Regions from separate parts of the Homo sapiens genome. Here region 2 is linked to region 1. Evidence: promoter capture Hi-C in 16 types of primary human blood cells and fetal thymus (Javierre and others, 2016). All regions are on one chromosome and are shown on one strand. Each heading gives the region's core, a stretch centred on a gene start or on the middle of the fragment in contact. The rest is flanking DNA. Distances are from core to core; before and after follow the strand shown.

Region 1 (4,210 bases), core at 613-3,112:
CTTGGACTACAAGCGCACGCCACTACGCCTGGCTAATCATCTTCTTCTTCTGTCTTTCTTCTTCATTTTCTTCTTTCTTTTTTCTTTTCTTTTTTTTTTTTTTAACTGCAGACGAGGTTTCACCATGTTGGCCAGGCTGGTCTTGAACTGACCTCAAGTGATCCGCCCGCCTCGGCCTCCCAAAGTGCTGGGATTACAGGTGTGAGCTACCGCGCCCGGCCCACTTCTTTATGCCTCAGTTTCTCCATCTGTACCAGGGCCAGCACCTCTCACACAGCAGGTAGTGAAGCTGCTGCTGCTGCTGCCCTGGGCTGGCCTACAGTGAGTGCTCACTGCACAGGAGGTATTGCTTCCCCCCGCCCAGCAGGTTCTCATTATAATCTTGCAAGTTTGAAGAAACCCAGCCTTGCTACCAACAGAAGATAAAAACAGACATGCCTCTCTGCCTCCAGTCTCATCCCCATGTCCTTGGGGAGCTGTCCTCTTCCGGCTCGTCCCATCTATGCGCCCTCACTATATCCTCAGAACAGGGCACTCCGTGGCTCCTTTAACTTTTTTGCCCCTCCTAGCATGGTGTGGAAAGGGGGCAGATGGGAGGCCTCTTTCTGAAACCACCTCCTGTTCGGCGGCTGTACTTGGACCTCAGTTTCCCTGTTTTGTTCACGTGGTCATTGTTAAGTCTTAGGGGACGTGTACAGAGGCTAATATTGAGCCACCAATCAGTTATTTGACAAATACCATAGGCGCTCTGTGAGCAGGAGCTGGCTCCTATCCCAGACCCCAGCCCTGTGACCTGCTCTCCACTCGCCCGGGGTCTTTCTTGGCTGGGACAATAAACCTACTGCATCAGGTGATTCCTGGGGAGTCAGCCCCGTGCTGGGCTCACACCCAGCCCCTCTGCGTTCATCTCTTACATGATCTCATGCGACCATCATCACACGTCCCCAGGCTCCTCCCGGGCCAACTCCAGAGGCAGTGCGTGTCACCTCCAGCTCTCCTCCCACAAAAATGCTGGCCTTTCAGCCTCCAGTGCGCTTAGTTCACCCCATAAACTCTGCTAATGCTTACCACATGCTGAGCGTCGGCGCCCGTCCCCACCCCCAGCCCCACAGGCTCCCGGGTCCCGCCCTGGGAGACCCTCCCACTGGCCGACCCTGCCCCAAGACTCGCCCACTCCACGGTGGGAAACCTGCAATGTGTCCCTCCCTACCCCGCCCTCCTCCAGCGCCGGCCAAAAGTGACCTTGGACGCTTCTACAATGCCATATCCACTCCTCTGAACAGGAGGCGAGTTTGCACCCAGTGGTGCCTTTGGTTGCTAGAAATTAAAAACCCGATTGCGCGTGTTTGCAATTACGGTAACTTGGCGCGTCACCCCCAAGCACTGAGCTAGCTGGTGGTAGCCGGGCGCCTCTCGGGGCGCGCCCTATTCCGCCCTCGGCCCTGGGCTGCCGCACGATCTGCGCGTCCTGCTGCACCTGAGCCCTTCCCACTCGGGCGCCCGCACCGCTGCGGGGCCGGGCGAGGATGCACCACCCCCGCCCGCGAGCCCGCCACGGGAGCGCGTGCCGAATCGACGCCGCCTGCAGTCCCCACTACGGGTCCCTAGGGGGCGCAGCCGGCGCGGGAAGCCGCCCGAGCCAGGCGCCGCGGCCGGCACAAAATTGCAGGCGGGCGGGCGCCGCGACTTTGAAAACAAGCGAGGGCCTGGGGGGCGGGCCCTGGGAGCGGGCGCCGCCTCCCTCGGCCAATCAACGGCGGGCGGCGGGCGGCGGGCGCGGGCGGCGCGTGCGGCCGGGCTGTGAATGGGGAGCGGCGGCCGCGGCAGCTGAGGGCGAGCGCGACCGCGACGTGCGGGCGGGCGCACTTTCTTCTCAGCGCCGGGCGGGGGCGGCGGCGGCGGCGGCTCCTCCGCGCCCGGCGGACCCCTCGGAGCTAGCGCGGCGGGCTCGGGACTGCGTGAGCGCCGGACGCGAATTTCCCCCGTTGACAACTTCTTCTCGCCCGGCTCGTCCCCGGCCCGCGCCGCGCCCCTCACGCGGGGACCCAGGACGCCGCCCCTCAGCGCTGGGCGGCCGCTCACCTCGGGCCGGGGGGCGCCGCGCCTCCCGCGGAGTGGCCGCGCCCGCTCGGAGCCGTCCCGCCTGTCCTGCCCGCCCGTCCGTCCGGCGCGGCGCTCGGGGTGGCGGCTGCTCGGCATGGCCCGGGGCGCCCGGCCCTCGGCGGCCGGTGGCGGCGGCGGCGGCGCGGAGCCCCCTGAGCGCGCGGGCCCCGGGCGGCCGCGGGGATCCCCGCCCGGCCGCGCCCGCCCCTCGCTGGCGCCGCGCCCCGGCCCGGAGCCCTCGCGACCCCGGGCGGCGCCCGAGACCTCCGGCGGGGACACGGCGGGCGCGGGGCGGTGCGGCGGGCGGCGGGCGGCAAAGTTGGGGCCGGGCCGCCGCGGCTGGTGGGCGCTGCTGGCGCTGCAGCTGCACTTGCTCCGGGCGCTGGCGCAAGGTAGGTGCGCGCGGGGTCGCGGGCCGGGGGCGTCGCCTCGGGGCGCGGAGGCGCGAACTTGAGCAGCGAGAGTGTGTCCGGGGTCCCCCCGCTTCCCGGCCCGGGTCGGGATGCGCCTTGCTGGGGGCTCTAGGGAGCCCAGGGGCTCCTCCACGCCAGACTCGGAGGAGAGGGAAACGGAGCCCCGTAGAGCCTGCACCCCGTCTGCTACTTTGCGTTTTATTTTTTTTATACCGCAGTAGCACAAACAAAAATTTTTAAGTTGAGGACCCATTTCTCAGCTCCTTAAAAGGATGCCCGAGTCCCCTTCCCATTGCATGGATGAAAAAGGGGCTGGTCTGTACCTGAGTCTTCGCACCGCAGGGTCTGGTTTCCGGTGAGTGACATCCAGAAGACTTGGAAATATCAAGTGCCAGTCGCTGTGAAAAGCCTTTTCCAGCCCCTCCCCAGGGCCTCGTCCTCTCCCCAGCCCCCGCCTGCTCCTGACTCCCCCAAGTCCCAAAGCCCGACCCCAAGTGGGTGCTGCGCGGCCGGTGGAGCAAAACTTTCAGTGCCCACAGCTTTTGCACTTGGCTTTGTTTTTCTCCCTCTATTGGCTTCTGTTTAGAATACAGTGGTGAGCTCTGAAATAGGGAAAGAGGATCTGCTGAATGGAAATGACCTTTTGAAACGAGAGATGGGATCTCTTGTGAAACGAGCTTTCCTTCCCAAATCTGGGCTTCCCTCCACCCCCTCCCCGCCCCCGACAAAACCCGTAACGTACCCCTGCCAGCTAGCATCGTTTTCTTTTGAAGTTTGCTGGTCTTTAAACCAAAACACCCCCCTCAACCCAGAAATAACTATTTTAATACGTCCTTTGGTAACGTCTTTAAAACACATTAGTGAACTGGTTTTGCTGATGGTAGTTTTAGGAAAATTAACTTAGTTGTATTCCAAGATACAGCTAACGAACAATCATGGTAAGGAACTCGATATTCTGAGATTGGCGAAGATGAGAGCATTAAACTTAAATTAGCTGTGTTCTGTGTCCTGTGAAGATGATTTATGTGTAGTAACATGACTTAAATGTTGTAACATTTTAAAGGTCTGAGCTCAAAACTATCATCCAATAGCTTAACAACGAACTCATACTTTTTTTTATTGATGCTTATGTAACGTTATCTAAATTGTGCCCCTCCACCCCCCTCCAGCTTTCATAAATGCTCCCTCTTATGTTTTACTACATGAAAACAAATTGCCATATTTCTGGTTAATTTAACTCCTCCATTACTTGGAAAATTTTCATTTCACTTATTTGTGCTTTTTGCTTAATGACTTACTCTGGAAGAAAAGCATTTATTAAGTCATTTTGTACAGTGGGATCTGTAGATTGTTAGAGCAACCAGGTTCAAGTGAAGAAATCTAAATCACTTAGGATGACCTTTAAAATAATGTGTTTATTAAGTTTTCTTTTTTTAAACAGTGACTTGCATTTTGCACTAAGACCTGTACGTTCATACATTTGAAGATTGGTGCACAGACTGAAATGGTGGGGAAAAAATCTGCCAGTGGCTTTGTTTTGAAGTATATTACATAGATTTCAAGTTTTTATCAGTTGCACTTTGAAGGTTGTGTAAAGCATTGCATTTTAACAACTGAAATGTTAATGAAAATACATTTTAAAAATATATTAAGGCAACAACCGAACTTTGTTAGGAATATTTTATTCCTTTTTG
Region 2 (4,210 bases), core at 642-3,141, 1.2 Mb after region 1:
TCCCATTCTGTTCTCATGGTAGTGAGTAAGTCTCACAACATATGATGATTTTATAAGGGGTCTCCCCTTTTGCTTGACTCTCTTTCTCTCTTGTCTGCCACCATGTAAGACGTGCCTTTCACCTCCCACCATGATTGTGAGGCCTCCCTAGCTACGTGGAACTGTGAGCCCATTAAACCTCTTTTTCTTTATAAAATACTCATTCTTACATGCACATGTATGTTTATTGCAGCACTATTTACAATAGCAAAGACTTGGAACCAGCCCAAATGTCCATCGATGATAGACTAAAGAAAATGTGGCACATATACACCATGGAATACTATGCAGCCATAAAAAAGAATGAGCTCATATCCTTTGCAGGGACATGGATGAAGCTGGAAACCATCATTCTCAGCAAACTAATGCAGGAACAGAAAACCAAACACGGCTTGTTCTCACTCATAAGTGGGAGTTGAACAATGAGAACACATGGACACAGGGAGGGGAACATCACACACTGGGACCTGTTGGGGGGTGGGGGACAAGAGGAGGGAGAGCGTTAGGACAAATCCCTAATGCATGTGGGGCTTAAAACCTAGATGATAGGCTGATAGGTGCAGCACACCACCATGACACATGTATACTTACGTAACAAACCTGCATGTTCTGCACATGTATCCCAGAACTTAAAGTAAAATAAATAAATAATTGCCCAGTCTCGGGTACATCTTTTTTTTTTTTTTTTTTTTTTTTTCCAGACGGAGTCTCACTTAGTCGCCAGGCTGGAATGCAGTGGCGTGATCTCGGCTCACTGCAACCTCCGCCTCCCGGGTTCAAGCGATTCTCCTGCCTCAGCCTCCCAAGCAGCTGGGACTACAGGTGCCCACCACCATGCCCAGCTAGTTTTTGTATTTTTAGTAGAGATGGGGTTTCACCATGTTAGCCAGGCTGGTCTCGATCTCTTGACCTTGTGATCCACTCGCCTGGGCCTCCCAAAGTGCTGGGATTACAGGCATGAGCCACCGTGCCCGGCCCCCAGTCTTGGGTGTGTCTTTATCAGCAGCATGAAAATGGATGAATACACCTATACAGCAAACCTATACAAGTACCCCTGCACTGAAAATAAAAGGTTTTTTAAAAAAAGAAAAGAAAGGCCTTAGTTCTTAAGCAATGACTAAAATGTGGGGAAACTCAGGTGGAATTCTGCAATGACACTGAAGTATCACGGTTCAATTTTAGACACAAAAAGCCAGGCAGGCAAAGACACCCACCATGAGCCAAGCTTTGCTGGGTTTGGGGAGGGAAGGGGACAATTGCTGTAATCTTGAGACTGAACAGTGCTGGAGGGAGGATTCAGGACAGCTTGGTAAGGGGCTTAAAAGATATTGACATGTACCCCAAATTGTATTTAATGGCATTTTGCTAAGTAATCTGGTTTCTGGTTTTAGATTCGGATTTTAGTTAGAAAGAGCTTATGCTGGGACACTGGACTGGACAGAAGAGCCACTTTCCTGCCTCACAGGGGCACAGTTTCTTTCTAGAATTCTCTTTGCAGAGCGGCTGTCCAAGATTAAATTGAAGCAGATGGGCCAGGCACGGTGCCTCACGCCTGGAATCCCAGCATTTTGGGAGTTTGAGGCAAGAGGATTGCTTGAGTCCAAGGTTCAAGACCAGCTTGGGCAACACAGTGAGATTCCTGTCTCTATTTCCTTTTTTTTTTTTTTTTAAGATGGAGTCTCACTCTGTGCCCCAGGCTGGAGTGCAATGGTGTGATCTTGGCTCACTGCAGCCTCTGCCTCCCAGGTTCAAGCAATTCTCCTGCCTCAGCCTCCCAAGCTGGAATTATAGGCGCCGGCCACCGCACCCAGCTATTTTTTTTTTTTTTTTTTGTATTTTTAGTAGACACGGGGTTTCACCATGTTGGCCAGGCTGGTCTCAAACTCCTGCCTTCAGGTGATCCACCCGCCTCGGCCTCCCAAAGTGCTGAGATTACAGGTGTGAGCCACTGCACCTGGCCTCCCTGTCTCTGTTTCTAAAAGAAATATATATATACTAATAATAAATAAATAAATAAATAAGAGGACAGACTTCTCTCTCCATTGCTTAAAAATCTCCTTATATAGCTGGAAAGTAGCAAATTGTAGGAAAGCAAGAGGAAAAGTCCTAGGGGAAGGAAGCCCAGCAATTCCTAAGACGTGTGATGTGTCCTAACCCCCAGCTGGTTGACTTATGTGCCTGAGGAGTCTGAGGACATGGCTACCTGGATCTCTGGGCATGAGTGCCAGTCCCTGGGACACCTCTCAGAGCCCAGCTGTCTGGAAAGGCCACCTGTGGGCATCTAATCCACAGCCCACCTGAGCCCTCCATGTGCACCACCTTGGACATCCAGCCCCATGCAGCCTGGAGATGCTGTAGCCCCAGCACTCTGGGCTGGTGACCCCATGAGAGGCCCTGCACAAGAACCGCCCCACCAAACCCTTCCCAAATTCCTTACCCATGAAATCATAAGCAAAACAAAAATGGTCGTTGTGAGCTGCTAAGCTTAGGGTTGATTTGTTGGGTAGCAGTAGCAATCTGGAACAACTGCCCAGAAGAGATATGCATCTGCCTCTGCTAAGGGAACTGCCGGGGAAGAGCCCCCAGTAGGGAGTCTGTATAGAGTTGCAGAAGGTGGAGAGAAAGGGAGAAAGAGAGAAAGAGGAGAGGGAGGGAAAGAGAGAGAAGAGGGAAAGACAAGAGAGAGGGGGAGAGATGTTACCAAAACACCAGGGGTTTGGTCTAGGCCCTGCTGCTCACTGCACAGAAAGCCAATCACTGAGACAATGAGTGTTGCTGAGGGAGAAGGCTTTAATCGGGTGCAGCAGCTGAGATGGGAGCTCAGTCTCAAATCCATCTTCTTGACCCACTAAAGGCCTTTCTTTAGCAGGGAAGAAATGTAACTATGTGTAAGAAAACAGGAACTCAGATAAAACAAAGCCAAGTTTCAAGCTTTAAGAACTTGATCAGATGGGTCAACTTCTATGTTTATCCAAAAAACAAAAAAACTTGTCTATGGGACTACTAGGTTGGTTTCAGAGACAGAAGTAGAGGGAGAGAGAGAAGAGGGAGAGAAGGCAGGGAGAGAGAATGGGAAGGGGGAGAGAGAAAAGGGGGAGGTAGGAGAGGAGAGAGAGAAAGGGGGGAGACAGGAGGGGAGAGAGACAAGAGAGAGAAAGAGAGCAGGGAGAAATAAGAAAAAGAGCAGGGAATGATAAGAGAGAGAGAGGAAAGGGAGAGAGGAGGGGGAGAGAGAAAGGGGGAGGGGGAGAGGGAAAGGGGGAGGAAGAGAGAAGGGGGAAAGAGGAGGGGAAAAGAGGAAGAAGAGAGTGGAGAGGGAAAGGGGGAGAGGAGGGAGAGAAAGGGAGAGGAGGAAGAGAGAGGAGAGAGAGAAGAGGGAGAGAGGAGGAAAAGAGAGGTGAGAGAGGGGAGGGAGAAAGAGGATGGAGAGAGAAGGGGAGAGAGGAGGGAGAGAGAGAAAGAGGGAGAGGGAGAAAACGAGGAGAGAGGAGGAAGAGTGAGGAGGGAGAGGAGGAAGAGAAAGGAGGGAGAGGGGGAGAGGAGGGAGAGAGAGAGGAGGAAGAGAGAGGAAGGAGAGAGAAAGGGGAGTGAGAAGGGAGAGAGAAAGAGGGAGAGGGAGAAAGATTGGGGATAGACAGGAGAGAGGGGGAAGGTGAGGGAAGGGAGAGAAGAGAGAGAAAGAGGAGGGGAGAGAAAAAGAGGTGAGAGGAGTGAGAGAGAGAGGAGGTGGGGAGAGAGAAAAAGGGCAGAGAGAGAAGAGAGAGGGATGTCTGCACATCTGATCTCCAGGTTCAGAGAGTCAGGAGTTGGCTGACAACATCCACAATGGCGAGCTGCCCTGTCCCTCCTCTCTCTAAGCTGCAGAGGGCAGGGAGGAAGCAGGACCATGGAGGGAAGACACCAGCCAGGTCTCCCCTTGCCCTCCGCAGGCTTCCAGCCCAAAGCAGCCCCAAACTAGAAGGGGGATTTAATGCTGAATCCAGCATGGAGCTTTAATTAACGTCTCAAATTAGACAATCTGTTCAGTGTTGCTCAACTGGCTTGAGACTGCTTTTGCTTCTGAAACTGACCTGGGACTGTCCCTTGCATAAGAGTGAACCAAAAAACCACGGCCAATCCAGTCTCAATTTGGGGGATGGGCGAAAGTGGAAGTAGGAGGAAAAAAAGCTGC

What was found. Contacts are between HindIII fragments. The CHiCAGO score rates a contact against its expected background, and 5 or more counts as called.
Region 2: a fragment that was not itself captured here is called in contact with the fragment with the promoter of SDK1 in region 1 in 3 of 17 cell types (endothelial precursors, M2 macrophages and M1 macrophages); the score reaches 8.7 in endothelial precursors.

The regions. Positions count from the first base shown.
Region 1 is chr7:3,299,390-3,303,599 of GRCh38, forward strand. It overlaps SDK1 (sidekick cell adhesion molecule 1), which reads left to right and starts at 1,863. Exons shown (of 45, transcript NM_152744.4): 1 at 1,863-2,495. The coding sequence starts at 2,198. It overlaps SDK1-AS1 (SDK1 antisense RNA 1), which reads right to left. Exons shown (of 3, transcript XR_001744897.3): 1 at 2,840-4,210. RefSeq lists enhancers at 430-942, 943-1,454, 2,164-2,664 and a silencer at 1,340-1,889. The HindIII fragment of the contact is 8,975 bases long and covers 1-4,210 here.
Region 2 is chr7:4,481,237-4,485,446 of GRCh38, forward strand. No RefSeq gene overlaps it. Among named protein-coding and RNA genes, the nearest start is that of FOXK1, 200 kb to the right of the region's middle. The HindIII fragment of the contact is 1,259 bases long and covers 1,263-2,521 here.